3 separate regions of the Homo sapiens genome follow, and all the other regions are linked to region 3. The links are contacts of gene promoters, found by promoter capture Hi-C in blood cells and fetal thymus (Javierre and others, 2016). All regions are on one chromosome and are shown on one strand. The core of a region is centred on a gene start or on the middle of the fragment in contact, and the rest is flanking DNA. Distances in the headings are between cores, read along the strand shown.

Region 1 (4,070 bases), core at 74-2,573, 160 kb before region 3:
AGAGCCATTTCTGAGGAAAGTCTCTGGAGCCCCTCTTCCTTCCACTGAAAGTTGTGCAAAAAGATCAGGAAGACAGCGCTTGGATGGAATAAATTTCAGTGTATCCACTTGACACATTATAGTGGCTGTCCCAAAGTTTACCTTATGCCAAGTACTTTCCATGTGCCACATCATTTAATCCTCACAAAAACAGGGGAAAATATTATTGCCACCCTACAGACATAGAGACTGAGATTCAATTTAAGGAGATGGTTGGTAAGGGACAGAGTTGGGGTTCAGATGTCAACAGTGAAATGCTTAACAAACTGTCATGCAGCCCACTCCTGGCAACTCTTCCTGCTCCTCTCTGGCCTCACTCAGCCTCTACTGTTCCAGGAAGCCTCATTCATAGTCATGTGGTTGCAGACTTCCCAAGCTCACTGTGTTACCAAAAAGCAAGACCTGCCTTCTGCTGCATCGCCCCAGCTGTCACCCAACTTGGATTCAGTCCCAGCACTGACACATCACAAAATCACAAAAGTGAGCAAACCATTACCTCCCTGAGTCTCCTTTTGTTTTTATCTATAAAACTAGAAAAATATTCTTTCCATAGGAATGTTGTTGGAAATAATAAAACATTATATTACAAGCTCTAGTCATTGTTGATGTTTAACAGGTAACAGTGATAATTATTTGTCTTCTCATTAATGAAGAAAAGGATTATTAATCATAGAGGGTGGAAGGCATCTATGGGAAGTAGAGATTTGAAGATAGGCTAAAACCCAAGTAAGGCCTCTAGATTAGATAATAGTATTGTATCTATTTTAATTTCCTGCTTTCCATCACTGTGCCATGGTTATATAAGAGAAGTCTTTGTTTATAGGAAATATACACAAGAATTTAGAAGTAAAGGGACATTGTGTCTGCAACTTACTCTTACAGGGTGTGTGTGTGTGTGTGTGTGTGTGTGTGTGAGAGAGAGAGAGAGACAGAGAGAGAGAGAGACAGAGAGAAAGAGAATGATAAAGCAAATACAGGAATCAGGATGAAGCGTATCTGTTTGTTTGTTTTGCTTTGTGACAGGGTCTTGCTCTGTTGCCCAGGCAGGAGTGCAATGGTGTGATCCCGCTCACTGCAACCTCTGCCTCCCAGGTTCAAGCGATTCTCATGCTTGTATTGTTCTTGCACCTGTTCTGCAAGTACAACATTGTGGGAATGGAAAATGCAGGAAATGGGCAGTAAGGCTATGAACGAAGCCCGCACAGGAGTGTGGGTAGCAGAGTTCTCTAGTCCAGGCTCCCACCTGAGGTGCTGGGACCTAGAAGAAAAGCCTCTCTGCAGACAGAACTGGAGTTAACGCTGTCCACGATAAATGGCCCAGGCCCTGTTAAGTTTGCCCCATTGAGCAAAACAAGTACCCACCCGCCTTTGCAGCCTTGCCTAGCTCACATAAGGTGCCAGCCCTTGCTGTACAGCAGAACCTTTGGGGAGCTGGACAAAAGCCTATCAAGGAGCATACCCCCAGGAAGCCCAGTCCAGGTGGGGAGCCCAGCCACACAATGGCCCTTGCCCCCACACCTCCTCATTCAGTCAGCTAAGGCCATGGCAGCTGAGCTGCCTCCACAGCTCATATAGGAAAAGGGTGTGGAAAGGGGCCACCAATGTGGTCAGGCCTCCATGGCCTGAGTAGGTCACCAAGCCTCAGGTGCACAGACTTGATGTCATCAATCAGGGTCTGTCAGCACACCTAGCCCTCAGGAACACTGCTCCCCACTGCAACCCCACACCAAGGCATCCTGGGCTCCCTCTGGGTTCTCCAGGCCCCAGGGAAGACAGACAGAGTCTGCCACCAAAGGTTTGAGCTCTGCCACTGGCTACGAAGCAATAGGGGATGTCAGAGCAAGGGAGGAACAGGACAGGAGTATACGTGGGCAGGAAGGGATTACAGCCAAGGAAGACAGGAGGCAGGTGCCCTGATTTTGAGGCTGTGCCCCAGCAGGGGCTTCCCAGAAGCTGTATTTGTCCTAAGACACCCCTCTGCAGCTGAGGGGCTAGAGATGGATATGTAGCTGTGTTAGGCCATTCTTGCATTGCTATAAAGAAATACCTGAGACCAGGTAATTTATAAAGAAAAGAGGTTTCATTGGTTCACAGTTCTGCTGGCTTTGCAAGAGGCATGGTGCTGGCATCTGCTCAGCCTTTGAGGAGGCCTCAGGAAACTTACAGTCATGGCGGAAGGCAAAGGGGAAGCAGGCACATCACACAGTGGAAGCAGGAGTGAGAGAGAGAGAGGCACTGGGAGGTGCCACACTTTTAAACAACCAGATCTCGTGTGAACTCAGAGCAAGAGCTGACTCATCACCAAGGGGATGGCCCAAGCCATTCATGAGGGATCCACCCCCATGACTCAGACACCTCCCACCAGGCCCCACCTCCAATATTGGGGATTACAATTCAGATGAGATTTGGTGGGGACACATATCCAAACCATATCAGTTATCAGTAGCCATACTGGATGAATGCCAGGAACTTAGAATTAGGACACATGGTCATTTAGGCAAGTGGCTTGTCCTGTCAATGGTACCCTGATAGTCGTGGGGTTGCCCCGTACAAAAAGCGAGAGGAAGTCTACAGAGCTGTCAAAGAGGGGCAGGTGGAAAGGCCTGCAGAGGAGTCCCCTGCTCCACAACCAGGCGTGCACCTCCCACATCCTCGGGGCTGTAGGCCCCACATGAGAGCAGAAAGAAGGATGCAGAGGAAGGCCAAGAACACAAGGTGTGCCCTTGGAAAGGCTGGGCACACCAAACACAACCTAATAAACAACAGCAATGAGCACACAGGGAAAGTACTCACAGGGAAACCATCATGAACTAGAGGCTGATCCCACACCCTGCCACATGGGGCCCCAGGCCCCAGCCTATCAACCAGTGGTCCTTATTGCCACAGCGATTGGTCTTTGGATAGGCACCTGATGCAAGCTTCAGCCAATCAACAGGCCACTCAGCTGGCCATCAGTAGGCCATCCAATCAGAGCAAAGCCCAGGACTTTCTTCGACTCTTAAGAAAAGAGAAGCAAAGTAACTGGCACAGATTGGAGAGGATCAAGGAACCCCGAGCTGGATACATACAAACTTTGGGTTAACATGGATGATTAAATACATATGTTTATGTGAACCACCTCCCAAATATGCTCCACTATAATGACACAAGACAAAGGGCAGGGGGAGACCAATTGCAAGGTGGCGCAAATGAGAGATGCTACCAAGGGTGGCGGGGGAGAGAGGGGAGCAGTTGTCAAGTTAGGAGGCAACAGGCTGAGGGACAGGGACCAGCAGACGGGGAGGGAGGGGCTGAAGCAGAAGTGTCCAGTGTCTGGAGGGATGGGGCCAGAAAGGCAAGGGGCATCCTGAAGAAGCTATACCTGGGGAGGGCAGCTCTCTCCCCACCTGCTCCCCAATTCATCAGCCAGGAATGCCCCATCCACCCCACCCCAGGGAGGAGGACAGAGGACTTTCGTTTGGGAGCATTGAATGGTTCAGAGATTCTGCAACTCTGCGGTCCCCAACTAAACTGCTCATTGTTTCAAGCAGTCCCTGTTGGGTAAATGTCCCCCATTGTAACCGGACTCGGATTCCACCGCTTGAAAGCCAAATACAAGAGGAGAGGTTTGGTGGGAGGAAAAGTGGTTTTAACTAGAGCCAGCAAACCAAGAAGATGGTGAATTGTTGTTTTAAAGCATTCAATTATCTCAAATTTTAAAATTTATCATAGGATTCTGAAAGGAAAACTTGGTATGGGACATACGTGGGAGCAGTGCAGGGTACAGGGTCTATGTGTCTTGATCCAATGGCTGTCTTGAGTATCACCTATCCTGAGGTCTGGTTGGTGTTATCTTTCCTTCGGCCAGATGGTGGTGGGTGAATTGTTTCGACTCCCCCTAAGTTGGAGGATTCCGCAGGGGTTCCGTGTCTGGTTTTTGTTTCAAGATTAGCCCCTGGAATTCCCAAATAAGCATAGAGTTAGATAAGCGGGCATGGTGCAAAGGAGTGTCTAGTGGGAAAGGGAGAGAAGCAGAGTTTCAAAGTACATTT
Region 2 (4,214 bases), core at 116-2,615, 170 kb before region 3:
TGGGCCTCAAGGGGCCCTGGGCTTAGGGTATCTATGGCAGTAGGAAAATGACATGGACAGGCTCTTCAGGGGTAGGCTAAAGTCCTCTGGCCAGCAGTACCCAGAGAAAATGGGCAGCAGCAGGTAAACCAGCCAGGAGGTGGAGTCCTCTGAACCCACAGCAGACCCCACCCTCCTGCCCAGCCCCTGCCCACATTGGGGGTCAGGACCACTGAGACTCTGGTCAGGACAGTGGGTGCTCTCAGCAGTGTGGCAAGCTCAGAGCAGAGCTCCCAAGGACCATACCACACTGGTTCAAAACCCATAGGTGACACCATCCCAGCAGAAGCTTCCATGGGTGCTGGATCCCAGGGCTGCATCCTGAGCACAGGTGGGCAGACTGGAACATAACACTAGGACCCAAGGGATCCAGAACATTTTAGGCCCATCTCCTGGGCTGCTCCAGCCTGTTGCCATGACTTGGGCAGTGAGTGGGCCTCCTGCCAGGTGGCAGGGCACAGCTTAGACCAAACCCTTGGCCTCCCCCCTCTGCAGCTACCTCTGACCAAGAAGGAACTAGCAAGCCTATGCTGGCAAGACCATAGGTGGGGTGCTGGGAATCCTCGGGGCCGGCTGGCACCCACTCCTGGTGCTCAAGGGAGAGACCCACTTGTTCAGATGCATAGGCCTCAGGCGGTTCAAGGCAGTCTTAGAGCCACAGAGTCAAATAAAAATCAATTTTGAGAGACCACAGCACCTGCTGCTTTGATCGTGATGTTCAAGGCAAGTTGCAAGTCAAGGCAAGTGTCCCAGAGGCCCTGGGCAGCTGAGTGCACCTGTGTTTGATCTTCCCCTGATGATGGACACTCCCAGCTGACCATCCAAACACCAGGAAAACATCCCCCTTTCCTGGGCTCAGTTCCTAGTCTACTTGCTGGTACGAACCCAACCCACACACTCCCCGCCCACAATGCAGCTCCTTCCAAATCCTCCCACAAGCCACCTTTGTGGGACTTGGAAGCTGCTTAGGATGGGCCCTGCCCTCTGCGGGAAGCCAATCCTAGCAGAAAGGTAAGCTAAACAACAGTCTCAGAATCTGAGACCCAGTGACTGTTCCCCCCGCCCCAGGCCTTGGGCCTGAAGTGGGGGCCTGCCTGTGGCCTCTGTGGTGGGCTCACTCCCACCCCCAACAGTGGCCCCAGGAGAGGCTTTCCCAAGAGTCTTCAAACTCCACCCACCCCAGCCCTAGCATCAGGGACTCCCCACCCCCCACTGGAGTGTTAATATCATTAATGTACAAATAAGATCCAAAGATATACCAAAGATCGAGAAACAGCTGGCTCCGACCTCCCTCCCACAGAGCCTTCCCAGGGTTAGCTGAAAAAGAGCCCTTTGGCATCTACAGAAGCCAGTCGGAGTTTATGGTTTCATTTGCCCAAAAATACACCTTTGGGGACCTCAAATTCTTTCCAAGAATCACTACCACACATATGAATTTGAACATTCGCCACCCTTCCACCATCCATTTCTCGCAGGAACTTCAAAATAAAAATGGCCAGTCTGCCCCCACTCTGGCTCCTCGTCTATGGCTGTCTCTTCTTTTCCAGGGGCTGCAGTTCTGATGTGAATGATGGTGCCATTCCAGCATTGGGCCTCTGGCAGGCTGCATCACATGATGGCACAGCATGAGTTTTGTTTCCGGGCCTTGGAAAAAAACAAAGAGGAGCTGAGAAGGAGGACTGACGAAGTAAGGGAAGCCCCAATCCTGGCAGGCGTGGCAGAGGGAGCTCCACAGGACACAGCCAGGCAGAGAAACTAGCACTAGAACAGGGTGGGGGTGGAGGCCTTGAGGGAAGCTGTCCACAAGCAATTCCCATCACCAAGCACAAGGCGGGCCCCGGCTTCCAAAACTAGTCTGGGATCCTTTTTCCTTTCTTTTCTCACACCCCATTAATGCTATCAAAAAGTGAGTAAAATTCCTACAGTTAGGCCAGGTACAAACAAAGGACCAATAATACAAATGGGATTGGCAGAATATCTTAACTTTGCCCCACTCCTGTCTTCACACAATGCTATCTGACCACCACGGTGGTGTTTCTTCCTAGAAGATGGTCCTGAGGACAACAGATGTGGTTCCCACTTGGGATGTGGTTTGTGGGGACCACTGTTGCCACCTTCTCTCTTGCTTTCTGGTCACAGACTATCTTCCTAATCCCACCTAGCCATCTCCCTCCAATGTGCACATGAAAGCAAATGTGTGTGGACAGACCAAGTAAATTTGTCCCTATGACTATCCAACCATGGGCCAACAGTGCCATCTCCACATAGGAAGACATGAGCACTGACCTGAGAGAAAGCGGCAGTCAGCAGCACCCATCCTTGTCAATTAAATATTTTCTGTCAAAGGGAAATTAAAAGCTTAAGAACCTCTTCAGGAAGGCTGAATTGCTTGCATCTTAAAGACTTATGTCTACTCAGCAGAAAGAGGAATAAGATTCAACAGTAAATCTCTGGTGATCAGAACTTGAACCAGCCTTCCTGGACTGGGAGTAGGAGTTCAGAAATCAGCCAGAGCAGCAGAGGGCAGAGCAGAGGCAGGAGTGGAACAAGGCCTCGGCCCGCATCGACTCCAACGGCGCCCAAGTGAACTGCCTCCAACCACCTGGGCCTGAGGCGCTCACCTTAGGCTCTTGCCGCACAAGGAATCATCCACCATGATTCAACAGTCTAAGAAAGACCCGTTCATAGTGGAGAGTGCCAGAAGCAGCAAGCTGCGACTGCTCTCTAGAGAGAACACCCAGGAGGCAGCAGGTGCTGGGTACTCACAGTTTTATAGAAGGCTTTAGACTGTGTTCCCAGCACCTCGGATTTGGACACCAAGTCATCTAGCTTCTCACCTCGCTCTAACAGAGACTCCATGGTGTTGTGCTGGACAAAAAAGAAAAGAGAATCCAGCTCTGTTCAGTACGTGCCCTGACATGAGCCCCTCATATTTCAGTCATGGGGGAAAGTGCCTTACCTGGGTTCCTCTCCAACACACACAAACTTCACCTCTAGGTGTCGAGACTCGGTCCAAGAATAGTTACTGTCCAAGTGGATGGAACAGAACCTGGTGACATTCCCGTGAAATCTAGAAGATCTAACTGGGATGTAGCAGACTTCCCAAAAAGCTGTCCCCAGCACAGGCTTAGATAACCAGCACTCCAGGAAAACTCATATATATATATACACACACATTTATATATACATTTGTGTGTGTGTGTGTGTGTGCACGCACATGTGCGTGTGCATGGAGCTTTGGAAAAAAGAGTAGCTGGGCACTATATGATTGTACTGGGTTGGAGAGTGACCCACACCGCACCCCCCAACCCCAACCGCATCCCAGAAATTAACATCCCCAGAATCTCTGAATGTGACCATATTTAGAAATAGGGTCTTGGCAGATGTAACTAGTTAGGAAGAGGTAATACTGGATTAGGGTGGCATCTAATTCCATGACTGATGTCCTGGTAAGAAACGGAAACACACACACAGAAGGTCACGTGACGGCAGAGGCAGAGCCTGAAGTGATGCACCTCTAATCCAAGGAATGCCAAGGATGGCCAGCAGCCACCAGAGGCTGGAGAGAGGCCTGGGACAGACACTCAGAGCCCCAAAAGACACCAGCCAGGCCCACAGAGCTATCTGTTAAAAGCAAATATTTGAGGGTTTCTGTTGACAGCAGCCACAGGAAACAAAAGGCGGTGGGAAATGGCTATTGAGCACTTGATGTGAGGCAAGTCCAAACTGAGCAGCGCTCTGAGTACAGACACACCAGATTTCAGATGCAAACTCACACATGCTTCATTAGTAAGTTTTATACTGAAAAAAAAACAAGTTTTATACCGATTACATGTTGGAAAAATTGTATTTGGATATACTGCGTTAAGTAAAATATATAATTAAATTAAATTCTACCTATTTTCCTTTTATCATTTTAAAATATGGCTCCTAGAAAATTCTAAGTTACACACATGCCCCAAATATATACCAGACAGCACTATGACAGAACATGTCCTGCCTTCTAAATGGGCTATGTCCTAAATGTCATCACTACAAACTCTGACTTAGGAAATGAAAACACTGACCCCATGGGAAGGGGTCTAGAGATGGAGACCTCACAAGAGCCAGCAGCTCTGCTGCCAGGGCCCTCAGGAAGCAGCAGCTCGCTTCTCTCCTCAGATGGCCACTGCTGC
Region 3 (4,252 bases), core at 496-2,995:
CAACCCGCCCCGTTCCACGCAGGTGTTCCGGGCTGCACCGCCCGCAGACCGAGGCCGAGGTGCTGGAGCAGAGCGCGCAGACGCTGCGCGCCCACCTGGGGGCCCTGCTGAGCGCGCTCAGCCGCTCGGTTCCCGCGTGCCCCGCCGTGGTGCGCGCCACCTTCCGCCAGCTCTTCCGGCGCGTGCGCGAGCGCTTCCCCGGCGCCCAGCACGAGGTGCGCCCTCCACCCGCTGGGCTAGGCTGGGCCGGGTTGGACTGGGCTGGGGCGAGGGGCGGGCGAAGAGCGGTGGGGAACCAGGGAGCGCTGGGGAGGACCAGGGAGGCTGTGTCCCGGCGAGGGTCAGGGACGGAGCCTAAGGGGAGGGGGCTGCCAGGAGCCCTGGTCTGGGGGACTCCAGCCCGCGCTCTTCCGCACCCCTCCAGAATGTACCGTTCATCGCCGTCACCAGCTTCCTGTGCCTGCGCTTCTTCTCTCCCGCCATCATGTCGCCCAAGCTCTTCCACCTGCGGGAGCGCCACGCGGACGCCCGCACCAGCCGCACCCTGCTCCTGTTGGCCAAGGTGCGGGCCTTGCGGCCACGGGCGGGATGCACAGCTGGGTGTCCTACCGGGGCCCTGGCCTGGACTGCAGAGTGTTCCCTACCGGCTCCGGCGAGGCCACTGGCACGCCCACGTAGGCACTGCACTTCACAGTTTGCAAAGCCTTCCTGTGGCCACCTTGTCCGAGTTCCATCTCATGGATAAGGGAACAGGCCTGCGAGGGGTCGGGGGTTGCCAAGGCCGCCCATCCTGTCGGTGGTGAATCGCGGGACCTTCCAACCCAGGTCTGCTTACTCTCAGGCTGCACCTATGTGCCCGGCACCGGGGTGGGGTATCCAGTGCAGCAGCGTCAGTTAAACCTACAGAGGAAGGCCCAAGTGGTCTCAGTTATCATAAGGCATCAAACTTCATGATCCTCTCCTCCCTGATCCCTAGTGGGGCTGGAGGGGGCCCGTGGGCATGGCCTCTGTCGCCTCTGCCTCCATCGCTACAGCTGAGTAGCAAAGACTTGGGGAGGGGGGGTGGGAGGGGGTGCAGTGGCTAGGCCCCTAACCTAGCAGAACCTGGTCCTTCCTGCTGTCACCTCCAGGCAGTCCAGAACGTGGGCAACATGGACACGCCGGCTTCCAGGGCCAAGGAGGCTTGGATGGAGCCGCTGCAGCCCACCGTGCGCCAGGGCGTGGCGCAGCTGAAGGACTTCATCACCAAGCTCGTGGACATCGAGGAGAAGGACGGTGAGCGCCGCCCTGCACAGACCCGCCCACAGCCTACTGCTGACGTTTGCTCCGCCCTTGAGCCCCACGGCCCCACCCACCGCTGTTTGTTCCTCTCGTGGCCCCACCCACCGCCTGCTGTTGACATTTGCCAGGCCCCCAGGCCATAGACCCACGCACCACTGTTTGTGCTTCCTGTGACCCTGCCCACTGCCTGCTGTTGACGTTTGCCCCACCCCTAGACCCATGGCCTCACCTCCCATCATCTGTGCCTGTTGACATTTGCTCCATCCTTGAGCTCCATAGCCCCGCCGCCACCTGCTACTGACGCGTGTCCCGCCTCCAAGCCCATGGCCCTGCCTTCCTCAGTCCACCTGTCACCCCGCTCACCACCAGCTGTTGATGTTTGCTCCGCCCTTGAGCCCCATGACTACGTCCACTGCCTGCTGTTCAGATTTGCTCAGCCCTTGAGCCCCATGGCCCCGCCCACTGCTCCGCCCCCCCCCCCCAGTCCCGCCCTCATTCCCTGGGCTCTCTATTCCCCTCCCTCCCTGGCCTGGCAGAGCTGGACCTGCAGCGGACGCTGAGTTTGCAGGCGCCACCTGTGAAGGAGGGGCCACTCTTCATCCACAGGACCAAGGGCAAGGGCCCCCTCATGTCCTCCTCCTTCAAGAAGCTCTACTTCTCCCTCACTACCGAGGCCCTCAGCTTCGCGAAGACGCCCAGCTCCAAGGTGGGTAAGGAGGGAGGCCGGCAAGTGGGGCTCTGAGAGGCCGGCAAGTGGGGCACCTTAGAGGCACCTGTCCCCTTCCTTGGAGCCCACTTGAGGTACCCCCGGGGTCAGAGAAGAAAGCCAGGTGTGTGGCATCTGTACTGCTTGTCAGAACCTAGGAGGGCCGGGCACGGTGGCTCACGCCTGTAATCCCAGGACTTTGGGAGGCCAAGGCGGGTGGATCACTTGAGGTTAGGAGTTTGAGACCAGCCTGGCCAACATGGAGAAACCCCGTCTCTACTAAAAATACAAAAAATCAGCCGGGTGTGGTGGTGGGTGCCTGTAGTCCCAGCTACTCGGGAGCCTGAGGCACGGGAATCGCTTGAACCCGGGAGGCAGAAGTTGCAGTGAGCCGAGATCGTGCCACTGCACTCCAACCTGGGCAACAGAGCAAGACTCCGTCTCAAAAAAAAAAATGAATATGGAGGAAGTTGATCCGACCTTACCAGGTTGTTGAGGATTAAATGAGATGATCTCCCTAAGGGTCCTGACCCAGGGCCTGGCAGGTAGTACTATTTAGGCAAATGGTATTATTAAAGATAGTACATCACCTGGGCTGCTAGATGAGTAGGAGGCTAGGGCAAACAGGGGAGGCTTCCTGGAACGGGCAGGAATATAGAAGCATGGAATCTTGGTGTGGGAGGGGATCTCAAAGATCACCTTGTACAGCCCTCTCTGAGTCATGGGTCACCTCTCCTGCAAGCTCTCTTCTCCCAGGAAGGGCTGAGGACATACTTCCTCCATGGACCTGGTGACTGCTTGCTGTACACCTGCCCCTAGTCATGCAGGCTATGGGGATGATCTTCCAGGAGTACCCAGCCTAGCCCTGGGCAGGTGAGAGCAGGCTAGGAGTAGGTGAAGGAGCTCATCACCCACCCTGTTCTCAACCAGCTCAGGGGTCCCACCAGATGAGGGGCCCGCCCCTTCCGACCAAAGACCCCTCAGATGATGATAATTATTTTTTGAGACAGGGTCTTGCTCTGTCACCCAGACTGTAGTGCAGTGGTGCGATCATAGCTGACTGCAGCCTCAAACTCCTGGGCTCAAGCAATCTTCCTGCCTCAGCCTCCTGAGTAGCTGGGACTACAGGCACGTGCCACCAAGCCCAGCTAATTTTCTTTAACATTTTTTTTTTGCAGAGATGGGGTCTTGCTATGCTGCCCAGGCTGTTCTCAAACTCCTGGCCTCAGGCAATCCTCCTGCCCCAGCCTCCCAAAGCACTCAGATGATTATTATACATCTTCCTTGCCAGGGTTGAAAGATTTGACTACATGGGCATTATTTAATTCTGGTCCCATTTTTTTTTTTTTTTTTGAGATGGAGTTTCACTTTTGTTGCCCCGGCCAGAGTGCAATGGTGCGATCTTGGCTCACCGCAACCTCCGCCTCCCGGGTTCAAGCGATTCTCCTGCCTCAGCCTCCCAAGTAGCTGGGATTACAGGCATGCACCACCATGCCCGGCTAATTTTGTATTTTTAGTAGACACGGAGTTTCTCCATGTTTGTCAGGCTGGTCTCGAACTCCCAACCTCAGGTGATCCGCCTTCCTCGGCCTCCCAAAATGCTGGGATTACATGTGTGAGCCACTGCGCCCGGTCAGGATATGACTGTTAGAGCTTGGGACTACAAAAGCAAGTTGGAAAATTAATAAATGCAAAGTCACAAAGCCTTGGCCACGGCTGGATTGACTTTGTAGCCCAGGGAATGCTGGCTGTCCAGACACTACCCCAAAGCTCACACCTCCGAGGCCTTCTGGGAGTGCCCCCCAGAGAGGCCAGGTCCTCCTCTCCCAGTTGCTGGGCACTTGGTCACCATCAGTCTGTGCTCTGCCCTGGCTGAGGTCACTCTGGGTCTCCCACGCCTACCCCTGGTGCTGCAGAAGGGGAGACTGAGGCCCAGAGATGGGGAATGGAATGCCCCTGGCTAGGTCCCTGAGCCTCCTCCTCCCTGACTGCCCCAGAAAAGCGCCCTCATCAAGTTAGCCAACATCCGGGCAGCAGAAAAGGTTGAGGAAAAGAACTTTGGCAGCTCGCACGTCATGCAGGTCATCTACACGGACGACGCCGGCAGGCCCCAGACTGCCTACCTGCAGTGCAAGGTGCGGGGAGGGGAGCGGGTGCTGTGGGAGTGGCCTGAACACTGTGGGAGTGGCTTGGGTGCTGTGGGAGTGGCCTGGGTACTGTGGGAGTGGCATGAGCCCTGTGGGAGTGGCCTGAGCTCTATGGGAG

Evidence for each region. Contacts are between HindIII fragments. The CHiCAGO score rates a contact against its expected background, and 5 or more counts as called.
Region 1: a contact is called between a fragment that was not itself captured here and the fragment with the promoter of LINC00957 in region 3, in 1 of 17 cell types (endothelial precursors). The highest score is 5.5, in endothelial precursors.
Region 2: a contact is called between a fragment that was not itself captured here and the fragment with the promoter of LINC00957 in region 3, in 1 of 17 cell types (endothelial precursors). The highest score is 5.9, in endothelial precursors.

What each region holds. Positions count from the first base shown.
Region 1 is chr7:44,192,472-44,196,541 of GRCh38, reverse strand. No RefSeq gene overlaps it. Among named protein-coding and RNA genes, the nearest start is that of GCK, 5.1 kb to the right of the region's middle. The HindIII fragment of the contact is 3,272 bases long and covers 1-2,959 here.
Region 2 is chr7:44,209,716-44,213,929 of GRCh38, reverse strand. It overlaps YKT6 (YKT6 vesicular SNARE protein), which reads right to left. Exons shown (of 7, transcript NM_006555.4): 6 at 2,806-2,907; 7 at 1-1,683. The coding sequence ends at 1,648. Among named protein-coding and RNA genes, the nearest start is that of YKT6, 11 kb to the right of the region's middle. The HindIII fragment of the contact is 2,069 bases long and covers 331-2,399 here.
Region 3 is chr7:44,036,542-44,040,793 of GRCh38, reverse strand. It overlaps LINC00957 (long intergenic non-protein coding RNA 957), which reads right to left and starts at 1,745. Exons shown (of 3, transcript NR_072982.1): 1 at 1,645-1,745; 2 at 432-900. It also overlaps the pseudogene RASA4CP. RefSeq lists silencers at 170-279, 370-459 and an enhancer at 3,911-4,252. The HindIII fragment of the contact is 32,056 bases long and covers 1-4,252 here.